Linked DNA regions of Homo sapiens: region 2 is linked to region 1. Evidence: promoter capture Hi-C in human tissues and cell types (Jung and others, 2019). All regions are on one chromosome and are shown on one strand. Each heading gives the region's core, a stretch centred on a gene start or on the middle of the fragment in contact. The rest is flanking DNA. Distances are from core to core; before and after follow the strand shown. Region 1 holds the start of FAM124A (family with sequence similarity 124 member A). Region 2 overlaps INTS6 (integrator complex subunit 6).

Region 1 (2,700 bases), core at 19-2,518:
AAAGTCCCGCATTTGGGCTAGGAGTGGTGGGGCAGGAGGGGCCCTGTGGGGAGCTTTGCCGGGGTTGGGTTAGAACTCTGGGTCGATCGTGGGCCTGGATTCTCTACCTGCCCTCACAGGGTTGCCAAATCCTGAGATTAGTCTAAAACCTCTCCGACCTTCCAGGAATGAGGCTTTCTGTAGTCTAGGCAGCTCCCGCCCTCCCCCAGGATTACTCCAGATAGGAAAAAACACCCTTTCCTCCTGGGTCAGTACCCGCGGCCTGGATGTGGTGCTGACTCTGCACAGGAAAGTCCTTTAGAGACAGAGGCTGCCTGGAAGCCTTTATAACGACATTCATCTCCTAAAAGGCATTTTGTCTTTTCTTCCGCTCAGGAAAACAGTGTTTGGAGACTAACTAATTAGTCTCCAAAGGTTTGAGCCCATTGTTTGAGTCCGCTGAAGCGAAGAGAATATTAAAAAAAAAAAAAGGCAGGGCTAGATCCTAATCCCAACACCATCTCCATCCCGCCGGTACAACAGGCCAAAGGGTCCAGCTGGGACAGGTGCACTTAGAGGTGAGGAAGTTCGGCGGGACTGGAGGAGTCGGGGAGGGGGACTCGGCAGCACAGATTAAAGTCCCACGATGAAGCCATATAACGAGAAATGCCATCCTCCTAGCCGACTTCGGAAAGACTTTTAGGTGCGGGTGTCCCACCCTGCTTTTCTTCCTCTCCCGATCTCCAGGGCCGGACTCCAGGGGGCTCCGGAGCTACAGGAGGAAAGTCCCCGAGGAAGGAGGAAACAAGTGCAAGAGCATCTCCTGTCTCTAGCGATGCAGACAAGGGGTCTTTGCATCCGCCTGGCGCTCTGCATCGCCTCACAGGATGGGTGGGCTTGCACTGAACCTTGAGTCCTTCCACTTTCCTCCCCCCGGGTGGTGCCCGCCCTGCCCAGGGCAGCGCGGCCCGCCCAGGAGAGAGCGGGGGATCCGGCAGGAGGAGAAGCCCCGCGCCCCGGTCCCGTCGCACGGATCAGGAGGGTCCCCGTCCGGGGAGGAGCCGCCGCGCAACTCGGAGAGCGCCCCCCGCCCGCGGCCCGGCCCGGCGCGGCTCACCCTCCGGTCTCGGCGCCCGAGTCCACGCAGTCGTCCTCCTCGCCGCCGCCGCCCGCCTTTGGGTCCATGGTGCACGTCCCGGCCGCGCTCGGCTTGCGGGCGCCGTCGTGACCCGGGGCGCCCTCCCTCCCGGCCGCCCAGTCCGAGCCGGCCGGGCTCCCTCCGAGCGTCTGGCGGCCCGGGAGCCGGCAAACAACTCAAGCGCCAGCCGCGAACCCCGCGCCGCGCCCTCTCCCGACCGCGCCCGGCTGGGCACCCGCGCCTGCGCCCGCGCCCGCCCCGCCCCTCGCCGTCCGGCGGGACCCGCGTGTGCGCGCGGCGGTGCGCGGGGAGTGCGCGTGCGAGCGCGTGTGCGAGCGCGTGGGGGGCGTGTGAGCGTGAGTGGCCGAGGTGTGTGGTCTCACACCCGTGCGTCTGTGCATGCGGTGTGATGTGGGTGCGGTGTGCACTCCTGGTTGCACGCGACTGTGGCTGTGCTGAGCGCGTGTGCCCGTCTGTGGTGCGTGACCGCGTGTGTGTTGTGGGGGCGGGGTAAGTGTGCACACGAGAGCCGCCTCTCTCCCCCAGGCCCACAGTCCGGGAATCCCGAGCCCCAGGGCTTGCCACGAGGTTCCCCACCTCCTGATCTGGGAGGAGCACTGAGAAAACCAACCTCAGCGCATCGTGAAAGCTGGGAAGGATTTGTTTCCCTTTTGGGACCAATTCGAACACCTGGGTGTTTTCTTATAGTTTCTGAAGAATTGCTGACGCCAAATTCATTATCACCTTTCTCAGTACACGTCTGAGCGGCATCCCACCCCCTCAACTTGCCAGTTTACAATAGGTGTCATGCATTCTTTTGCTACTTAAAAAAAAAAAAGCCTTTAAAAATAATTTAAAGAGCATTGAATGAACCTGCAATTCACGGGTTGTTGCAGCAAGGGGATAACCTTAGGGTGAGTTAATGATCGCTATTGGAGGGGCTCACCTCCTATTAGGAGGGTGAAGAGGGAGGCAAGTTGGCAGGGCGGGCGGAAGGAGACTTCGAACAACTTGAATTTAGTTCTGACAGCCCTATCCAAACCATTGGGAGGAATTGTCCTTACTGAGCCTAAAATTTCTTGCACCCCAAACAGCAATGGACATATTGGTGGGCATTAGCTGAAAGAAAGGAGCGTGCCAGTTCTTCAAGGGAGATTCCCCTGCCCATTTTTTATCTTGCAGCCAGGAGGGAACCTGCCTTTATTTACTCTGTGTGGGAACAATTCAAACTGTGCCTCATTTGATCCTCAGGGAAGTGCTGTGAAACAGGCTTACTTTTCTATTTTACCGTCAAGGAAACTAAACCCTACCGAGTTCGAGTGCCTGGTCCCAGGACACCCTATCAGTGAGCAGGGAAGCCAGGTAGTCCACTTAAGGTAGCTGGAGCCTGTGCCACTTACCTAGAAGGCTGATGAGTGGGCCAGTTGTATCCTCAGGAAGATGGTACTAAGGAAAAGGCCAGGGAAGAAAGGGTGAAATCAGCATGACTTTTAGAAGATGGGCTTTGGAAAATGAGATGCTATTTAAATGATTTCTGCCTTTCTCAAATATCCAGAGAAAGGGCATGCCAGACCAAAACCTCA
Region 2 (2,700 bases), core at 178-2,677, 180 kb before region 1:
ATATTAATTCAACATTTGATTTTTTAAAAATGCAGATTATATTTCCACTCCTGGTTAGGCAGTATAATACAGTGTTTAAGAGCACAGTGTTTAAGAGCCAGACTTACCTGGGTTTGAATTCTGTCTCCTCACCACTTACTGTGTACCTTCAGACAAGTCCTGAAGCTCTCTGTTTGTTGTTTGTAAATGAGGACTATAATAGTGCCTATCTCATATGTTTATTTTGTGGGTTAAATGAATTAATATATATAACGGGTTTAGAATAACTTGCGCCTTCTAATAGTAACCACTATAAAAGTATTATTGTTATTAATGGCTATATTTTTTAAAGCATCATTAGTTCAGACACTTCCATTTGAATACTCATACTAGAGTTTCTTGGGATTAACTCTCAGAAAACAGCTCTTATGAAACTCTTATCCCATCCAGTGTTCAGAAATAAAAATCCTATTAAATATCTTGTTAGCTAGTACTGTGATTCTCAGTTTTCTTCTTTCTGTTAAATACAGCTCTGAAACAGATTCCTTCAGGAACATGATCCTTCTGTTTAGAACTCTTAAAGTACTGGGTGTATTTTATTATTTATCTTTAAATCCTCAGAGCCTAAACATACCTAATATTTGGTAGGTACATAAAAAATGATGAGTGAATGCATATATAGTTTTCAGGAAGTAGTCTACCTTCTTGCAGTGTATTTTAATGGCTGATCAAGAATAACTCTTTGTTAGGGGTCCTTACAAATGTCTGAGCTTTGGAGTTAGTAATTACTGTACTTAATCTTTCTCTTGTTCAGTTGAGGCATATAGGAAGTTTTCTTGTCTTTGGTTTTGTATAAAATAATGACATTATTGGAAAAGAGGTACAGATAACTACTTGAATAATTTACTGGCTTTTGACAATTATCTTCATATTAATATGTTTCAGTACTTTGGATAAGAATAAGGAATATAAAAGTTTCTGCCATATTTGCCTTGTTCTTTTTGTTTTGGATTTTAAAAAATTTAATAAGTGAAACAGAACATTGCAGATTGATAGTGTGTAGTCTCCCTTGTTCCCCTACTCAGTGTCACTTTCCTCCCTCTTTCCCTTCCCGTAATCAACAATTGCAAATTTGATTTATAGTCATTTAGTCCACATTTTCTTATTTTTACTACACATATCTAAAACTATTCTAAACATTGTTTACTTTTAACAATGTGTAGAGATGCTATTCTGTGCATCATTTTGCATCTTGCCTTTTTTTCCTTCCATGTAATACTGTTTTTGACACAGAAATAGACTACCACGTGTACAGTCACCCGATATAAGAAAGAGGTGACATTCTAGTGCAGCATAGAAAGGATGGCCTGTATCAATTGGATATCCATTTGGGAAAAAAAATGTATCTTTGCCCCTATTTTGGACCATACTCCAAACTCAATTTCAGATGTATTTCAGGTTTGATTTTAAGTGGGAAAATAATAAGCTTTTAGAAGAAAACATGGGAGAGCATCTTCATTATCTATGAGGAAACAAAAAGCACTAACTGTGAAAGGAAAAATATATTTAGATAACTTCTGTTTATCAAAAGATACCACTAAAATAATGGAAGAGGTAACAGAGTAGAAGATATTTGCAATACTATAATGTATCCAATAAAGCAGCTGTCCCCAACCTTTTTGGCACCAGGGACTGGTTTCCTGGAAGAAAGACAGTTCTTCTGTGGACATGGGTGGGTATGGTTTTGGAATGAAACTGTTCCACCTCAGATTATCAGGCATTATTTAGATTCTCAAATAAGGAGCGCACAACCTAGATTCCTTGCATGTGCAGTTCACAATAGGGTTCATGCTCCTATGAGAATCTAATGCCACTGCTGATCTGACAGGAGGTGGAGCTCAGGCAGTAATGCTTGCTTGCCCACTGCTCACTTCCTGCTGTGTGGCCCCATTCCTTAACAGGCCACAGACTTGGGGATCCCTGCAATAAAAGACATCTGGAATAGATTAACAATCCTCCAAATCAATAAGAGAAAGCTAGACAACCCAATTAAAAATAATAAGCAGAAGACTTTAATAGTCACTTCACAAAAGAGCACGTTGAAATGGCCAATAAGCGTATGAAAAGGTATTCCACTTCCATAAACATCAGGGAAATTAAAACCCCACCCCACTACACACACGCACACACACGCACACACACACACACCCACAATGGCTAACATGAAAAAGACAGCCAAAACTAAGTGTTGATGAAGGAGATACAGAGCAACTGGTTCTGTTATACGCTGCTAGTAGGAGTATAAATTGGTATAACCACTTTGGAAAACTGGCAGTATCTGATGAAAGTAAACATATTCATATCCAGCAATTCCACAACTAGGTATATACTCAACAGAAATGCATACATATATTTTCCACAAATACATGTACTGTAATTTCATAGTTACACTATTCATAACATACCCAAACAATTCAAAAGGATAATTACGGAGTTTGAGGCCAGACTGGTGAAGATCCCTTCTCTACAAAATATTAAAAAGTGAGCTGAGTGTGGTGGCACGTGCCTGTAGTCCTACCTACTTGGGAGGCTGAGGCAGGAAGATCTCTTGAGTCTAGGAGTTTGAGGGTGCAGTGAACTATGACCATGTGACTGCATTCCAGCCTGGGTGACAGAACAAGAGCTTGTCTCTAAAAAATAAAACTAATTATGATATACAGA

What was found. The method cuts DNA at HindIII sites, captures the fragments that hold promoters and counts their contacts. A contact is called where the count stands out against the background at its distance.
Region 2: a contact is called between a fragment that was not itself captured here and the fragment with the promoter of FAM124A in region 1, in 1 of the 25 tissues and cell types used here (hippocampus).

Annotation. Positions count from the first base shown.
Region 1 is chr13:51,220,966-51,223,665 of GRCh38, reverse strand. FAM124A (family with sequence similarity 124 member A) reads right to left here and starts at 1,268. Exons shown (of 4, transcript NM_001242312.2): 1 at 1,097-1,268. The coding sequence starts at 1,164. RefSeq lists silencers at 1,320-1,379, 1,500-1,549 and an enhancer at 1,330-2,120. The HindIII fragment of the contact is 11,319 bases long and covers 1-2,700 here.
Region 2 is chr13:51,399,195-51,401,894 of GRCh38, reverse strand. All of the region lies in intron 4 of INTS6 (integrator complex subunit 6), which reads left to right. Among named protein-coding and RNA genes, the nearest start is that of MIR5693, 52 kb to the right of the region's middle. The HindIII fragment of the contact is 4,892 bases long and covers 1-2,700 here.